Linked DNA regions of Homo sapiens: region 2 is linked to region 1. Evidence: promoter capture Hi-C in 16 types of primary human blood cells and fetal thymus (Javierre and others, 2016). All regions are on one chromosome and are shown on one strand. Each heading gives the region's core, a stretch centred on a gene start or on the middle of the fragment in contact. The rest is flanking DNA. Distances are from core to core; before and after follow the strand shown. Region 1 holds the start of TOM1 (target of myb1 membrane trafficking protein). Region 2 overlaps SLC5A4-AS1 (SLC5A4 antisense RNA 1).

The links. The method cuts DNA at HindIII sites, captures the fragments that hold promoters and counts their contacts. A CHiCAGO score of 5 or more calls a contact.
Region 2: a fragment that was not itself captured here is called in contact with the fragment with the promoter of TOM1 in region 1 in 1 of 17 cell types (M1 macrophages); the score reaches 8.2 in M1 macrophages.

Annotation. Positions count from the first base shown.
Region 1 is chr22:35,297,472-35,301,222 of GRCh38, forward strand. It overlaps TOM1 (target of myb1 membrane trafficking protein), which reads left to right and starts at 2,423. Exons shown (of 15, transcript NM_005488.3): 1 at 2,423-2,509. The coding sequence starts at 2,458. RefSeq lists enhancers at 1,998-2,520, 2,447-2,596, 2,521-3,043, 2,997-3,156, 3,567-3,751. The HindIII fragment of the contact is 3,434 bases long and covers 736-3,751 here.
Region 2 is chr22:32,215,478-32,218,723 of GRCh38, forward strand. All of the region lies in intron 2 of SLC5A4-AS1 (SLC5A4 antisense RNA 1), which reads left to right. It overlaps SLC5A4 (solute carrier family 5 member 4), which reads right to left. Exons shown (of 15, transcript NM_014227.3): 15 at 2,987-3,246. The coding sequence ends at 3,037. Among named protein-coding and RNA genes, the nearest start is that of SLC5A4-AS1, 12 kb to the left of the region's middle. The HindIII fragment of the contact is 3,626 bases long and covers 1-3,210 here.

The sequences.
Region 1 (3,751 bases), core at 1,173-3,672:
TTGAGACGGAGTCTCGCTCTGTCTCCCAGGCTGGAGTGCAGTGGTGCAATCTCTGCTCACTGCAAGCTCCGCCTACCAGGTTCACGCCATTCTCCTGCCTCAGCCTCCCGAGTAGCTGGGACTACAGGCGCCCACCACGGCGCCCACCACCACGCCCAGCTAATTTTTTCTATTTTTTTAGTAGAGATGGGGTTTCACCGTGTTAGCCAGGATGGTCTTGATCTCCTGACTTCGTGATCTGCCTGCCTGGGTCTCCCAAAGTGCTGTGATTACAGGTGTGAGCCACCGTGCCCAGCCTGCATGGAGTTTATGATTCCACTTCCTGTTTGGGGGCATATGAGTTGTCTCTGTTTTTGTTTTTTTTTGTTTTTTTTTTTTTTTTTTTTTACCATGAATAAAGTTTACAAGAACTTGTTAAAAGCTTAAAGGAAGGGCCAGAGATGGTGGCTCATGCCTGTAACCCAGGGCTTTGGGAGGCTGAGGTGGGAGGATCACTTGAGCTCAGAAGTTCAAGGACCAGCCTGGGCAACATAGTGAGACTTTGCCTCTAAAAATAAATAAATAAAGGTTAATGGAAGAATCCAAAAGAAGTTCATGCTAAACATAACTCCATATGACCAAGCAATAAGGTTAAGTGAAGAAAGACATGGAAAGTGCCTTGACCTGAAGGTCATCTTAAATGGCCTTCTCCCCGCTTATACTCCAAATACCATTACTGAAACGTAGATCTATTTAAGCTTTCATGTGCTAGTTACTGGGTTAGACAATAGTGGGGAGCAAAACAGAAATAGTAGCCCAGCCCCCAGGGACATCCAGACTCGTGGGGGCAAAGGCATTTGTGAACAGGTCTCATGAGTGTTGTGGAAACACTTCAAAGCAGTTTTTATATTGTACAGTAAAGACATCGGACCCCATGGCTGCTCAAACAAGTGAATCTACAGAGGTGATTAAGTTCTAATTTAGGTTTGTTTTTTTTTTTAAGACACAGCCTTACTCTGTCACCCAGGCTGGAGTGCAGTGGCACGATCTCAGCTCACTGCAATCTCTGCCCCCCTGGGTCCAAGCAATTCTCATGCCTCAGCCTCCCAAGTAGCTGGGACTACAGGCGTGTACCACCACACCTGGCTAATTTTTGTATTTTTAGTAGAGACGGCATTTTACCATGTTGGCTAGGCTTGTTTTGAATGCCTGACCTCAGGTGATCCACCTGCCTCAGCCTCCCAAAATGTTGGGATTACAGGCGTGAGCCACCACACCTTGCTTAATTTAGGTTTTCTGTCATCCAAAATTTGTGCAGTCAATTTACTAGCCTTTCAGATTTAAAAACCACAAACATCACAATAAGTACTTAAGCACCCACAGTAGCCAGACTACTAAGGCCATGGTTATTGTATTTTTGGAGTACATGCCAGAAGAAAAGGTCATAACCCATAGATAGGTATCTAGTGTGTAGGTGTCAGCAGACACACCACACACAGCCAGGAAGGCTGAAGAGATTAGAATCACAACGCTGGGAAAGGCCTTTGAGATTCTTAGCTTGGGGTCCACGGTTGTACTTCAGGGACCCCAGAAACTCCCTGAGGTTATAAGCAAAATTGTATCGCTGCCTTTTTTCTTCAGAAAGGCTCATGGCTTTTGTCAAATTCTCAAAGGAGACTGTGACCTAAATAAAATATTTTTTAAAAATGGTTACGAGTCCTTGATCTAATTCCAGTATCTAGAGAAAATGGGAGCTATGTTTGGCTCACACAGTAAATTTATGGCAGAGACGGGTATTAAAGCCCCACTCGTGACTACATCTGTGCTTTTTGCCATCCTGGGCGCTAGAGGGAATTGCGCTGCAATTCATTAAATTGCCTCTCAGTCTCAACAGATGACAAACCCCTTGCCCTTGCCTCTGATTTAAGGTAAGATAATTTGGGCTGCGAGCAGGGTGCATCTTGGAGCGGGGAGACCTTGACATCAAACAGGAAGAGTCTTACCGGGACAAGGAGACAACAGCCCAGAGAGGCTGTCACCCAGGGTAGGTGTGCAGTCACAGTGAGGTCCCAAGGACTAAGGGCTATGACCCTAAGAGTCTCGGCTTCTGTGTAACTCACCCAAGTCACTTCCCTGGTCTACGACCCAGTTTCCCAAATGTGTAAAGGGTCCTTTAGACCTCGCCCTAAAAGGTCAGGGGCGTGGCTTAAAGAGGACCGCGCTTCCCGGGCCCCGACCCCAGACCCTACATCGTGTGTGACGCCCGCCGCCGCCGAGCAAGCCGCAGTGAGGTCATCGCCCTCCGCCTCGGGGGCGGGACCCTGGCGTCTCAGGGCGGGGCTTGTGGTCGAGCTTCGCGGTGCCACCGCCCCGCCCACGCCTCCTCGCCGGCCTCCGAGTGCGTCACGTGACGGGTCGGTGGCGCTGGCGGTTGCTGTCAGCTGATTCCCGGGGTTGGTGGCAGCGGCGGTAGCAGCAATGGACTTTCTCCTGGGGAACCCGTTCAGCTCTCCAGTGGGACAGCGCATCGGTGAGTCCCTGGAGCCCCCCACAGCTCCGCCCCGGTGCTCCGCACCCAGCTTCGGTCCCCTGGGAAGCCTCCGGGTGCCTAGTCACGGAGGCAGGGAGGGCAAGGAGGCTGGCGTGTAGCTCTCCGACCTGGCTCCGCCCAGCTTTCCTCCCACTCTTGATTGACAAGAACTTGGGCCATTAGGAAGCCTTGGCTTGTGATAGATGTATATGACAGCCAGTAGGTAAGGAGAGAGGGTGGGTCCGGATGCCCACGGCGCAGCCAATGTGCGTCTGCTGGGGTCCCCAATCGAGGGAGAAAGTTTTCGTGGTTAAAGGGACTGCGTGGTTGGCAGTGGCTGGGCCACTCTGCTGGGTCCCGCCGCCTGGGCTCTGGCCAGCTCCTTCCTGGCTCACCGGGCCCTCCGGACACAGACACCTGAGAAGGGCTAGAAGTCCCTTCTCCCAGGACCGCGAAGCCCCGGGCTTGGCGTCTTGGGGCCAACTGGCCAGAGGGGCCCAGCGCCGGACAGCCCGCGGCCAGGCCTCACAGACCCGGGTCTCAGGACGTGTCCGCCTGGGCTCTTTTCTCGACCCAACCTCAAATGGACCCGCACAGACTCTCAGAACCTGAGCAGACAGTGGTCGGACAAACCCTCCTGGTCAGCCCATCTCGGTGCTCCGTAGGTGGGGCAGCCGGGAACTCGGGCCAAGCCAAGCCCAGGGCACCTGGCGCCTGTCTGCTGGTCCGTGGTTCTCTGCACCCTGGTGACAGGATACTCACAGTTCTGTGACGCAGCCTCCCTGGGCCGAGGTTTCCTCACCTGTAGTTGGCGGGCAATAATGGTCCCCACCTCCGTGGGCTTGTTGTGAAGATTAAATTCCTTAATAAATGTGAAATACTTAGAACAATGCCTGGTACATGGCCAGTGCCATATAAAAAAAAACAGTTGTAATATTTATTATCACTGGGCTGGGCACGGTGGCTCCCGCCTGTAATCCCAGCACTTTGGGAGGCCAAGGCGGGCAGATCGCTTGAGCCCAGGAGTTCGAGACCAGCCTGGGCAACATGGCGAGACCCCGTCTCTACAAAAAAAAAAAAAAAAAAAAATACAGAAATTAGCCGGGCGTGGTGGTGCGTGCCTGTGCACCCAGCCACTCGGTAGGCAGAGCTGGGAGGATTTATTGGATCTGGGAGGTCAGGGCTGCAGTGAGCCCTGATGGCGCCACTGTACTCCAGCCTGGACGACGCAGGGAGAGCCCA
Region 2 (3,246 bases), core at 148-2,647, 3.1 Mb before region 1:
ATTCCATTTCTAGGAAAATAAAGAAAATAAAACTAGCAAATATGTCAAAAGATGAATATACAGGTATGTCTATTTGAGTATTGTAGATAATAGCAAATAATTGAAACCAACATGAATGCTCCTTAGTAGAAAAGTGGCCAAATTATAGTGAACTATCCTATGGAACAATAGTGCAGCTATAAGAAGAATGAGGGAGATCTATTTGTACAGATAGGCAAAGATCTCCAAGATATATTTTATGTGTAAAAGCCAGTCACAAAATAACACATAAAGGAAGATTGCATTTTGTAAATGTATGTGTATGTTTACATATGTATATAAATTAATAGAAAAATTACTTACTAGAACATATGCTTTAACTTGTCAACACTTCTTTGGGAAGTTAGTGACAGTAGATGAGAGGATTAGGTTGTCAGTGAAGAGTATTATATTTAATTCTACAGACCCAAGGGCATTGTTTGAATTTTTATAACAATATGATGGATATGTTTCTTTAATTTTTATTATTTTTACCCAGGAAGAGACAGTCTCCAGCATGTGCTGAAAGTGCTCTCTCTTCCATGTTTCTTTTTTGAGATGGAGTCTCACTCTGTCACCCAGGCTGGAGTGCAGTGCTGCGGTCTCGGCTCACTGCAACCTCCGCCTCCCAGGTTCAAACGATTCTCCTGCCTCAGCCTCCTGAGTAGCTGCGACTACAGGCGTGTGCCACCACGCCCAGCTAATTTTTTGTATTTTTAGTAGAGACAGAATTTCACTATGTTGGCCGGGCTGCTCTCGAACTCCTGACCTCGTCATCTGCCCGCCTCATCCTCCCAAAGTGCTGGGATTACAGGTGTGAGCCACCGCGCCCGGCCCTCTTCCATGTTTCTTACGTAATTTATTAAAACATATTTTAGTTTGTTGACTTGCTTACAAAAAGGTGTGTCTTAAACCTCTCTACAATTCTACATAGAGATAATTGTCATTCACTGTGTTAAAACAGAAATAAAGACAGAGAAATACGTATATTCAAGGATGCCAATAAATGTTAATATCTAAAATTGGATTGTGATAATTGTTGCAAAACTCTGTGAATATATTAAAATACACTGAATTATATGCTTTAAATAGATACATTTTATAGTATGTGAATTATATTTTAATGAAGCAGTTAAAAATCAATGGTTTGATGTTTTAGTATTCAGTGACAAATGGCTTTAAGATGTAAGCAATAATTTCCAGTATATTTAAAAGATATTTACAATGGATATTTCTAGTTCACCCCCCTGTCAACTATTAGAAAACATTTTTATATTTTAAATCCTTGAAATAACTGAGTGAAGGTCGCTTCACAGGAGAAGTCACTGTGGTGTAGATGAGAAGGTTACTAGGTGAGGCAGAGTTGGAAGAGGCATTCTTTTCAAATGGAAATCTCTGGAAACTTCAGAAAGCAAGTATGAGGTAGGGAAATTTGCCTGGTGTATTAGTCTGTTCTCACACTGCTAATAAAGACATACCCAAGACTGGGTGATTTATAAAGGAAAGAGGTTTAATGGACCCGCAGTTCAGCATGGCTGAGGAGGCCTCAGGAAACTTACAAGCATGGTGGAAGGGGAAGTAAACACGTCCTTCTTCACAAGGCGGCGAGAGAAAGAAGTGCAAAGCGAAGTAGGGGGAAGCCCCTTATAAAACCATCAGAAACCATCAGATCTCATGAGAACTCACGATCACAACAGCAGCAGCACGGGGATAACCGCCCTCACAATTCAATTACCTCCCACCAGGTCCTTCCCACAACGCGTGGAGATTATGGGAACTACAATCCATGATGAGAGTTGGGTGGGGATACAGCCAAACCATATCACCTGGTCATTTTCTTTTTAAGGCTTCACATATAAGTGAGATCCTATAGCATTTGTCTTTCTGTGTCTGGCTTATTTCACTTAGCATAATGTTCTGCAGGTTCATCCACATTGTTGCAAGTGGCAGGATTTCCTTCATTTTTAGTTCTGAATCGTATTCCATTATGTATATATACAACATTCTCATCATTCATCCATCACAGCACACTTAAATTGTTTCTGTATCTTAGCTCTTGTGAACAGTGCTGCAATGAAAAGTTGAACTCATAGAAGCAGAGAGTAGATGATGGTTGCCTGGGGCGAAGGGGTAGGTAACTGGGGAGGTATTAGTCAGAGTACAAACATTCATAAGATGAATATATTCTGAGGGTGCAAAGGATAGCATGGTGACTGTAGCTAATGATACTGTATTGTGTGCTTGCAATTTACTAAGAGTCTATCAGTTGTTCTCACCACACACACAGAAAAGGTAAACATGTGAGGTGACAGATGTGTTAGTTAACTTGATTGTGGTTACTGTTTCAGAATGTATACATATATCAAATCATCACGTTGTACATCCTAAATATAAACCATTTTCATTTGTTTACTATACCTCAATAAAGCTGGAAAAATAGAATTTAGACCTGTGTGTCTTGTTTGCACACGTAGAGGTCACTTCACAGTTTTATAAATTATCAACTCTTAGTGACACAAAGGAGCAACAAAAGCAAAATATCAAGTCTGTAGTCATCTCATTAGATAAAATTACCAACTGCTCATTTTTTTTTTTTTTTTTTGCCACACAACATACTATAACATGAAAATGGCCGGGCACAGTGGCTCACGCTTGTAATCCCAGCACTTTGGGAGGCCGAGGCAGGTGGATCACGAGGTCAGGAGATCGAGACAATCCTGCCTAACACAGTGAAACCTCGTCTCTATTAAAAATACAAAAAATTAGCCGGGCGTGGTGGCGGGCGCCTGTAGTCCCAGCTACTCGGGAGGCTGAGGCAGGAGAATGGCGTGAACCCGGGAGGCGGAGCTTGCAGTGAGCCGAGATAGCGCCACGGCACTCCAGCCTGGGAGAAAGAGCAAGACTCCCTCTCAAAAAAAAAAAAAAAAAAAAAAAAAAAAAAAAAAAATTAAAATCACTAAAATTATCCTTTGGTTCATTATTAAGAATTATTCATTATTCTAATGGCTCAGATAGAGTTCAGGCATAGTAGCCGTGAATAAAGACCACCACAGCCAGGAGGAGGATGGCGTTGATGTTCACTATTGTCCTCCACGAGGGCCTCTCAGACGTGTCTGTGAGCTTCTTGCTCAAGGCTTCCTCCTCCTCCTTGGTTAGCTTGGGTCCCTTCTGCAAACCGCAGAACAAGTCATAAGCTTTCTTGAGGCATCCACGTGATTTCTCAGGATA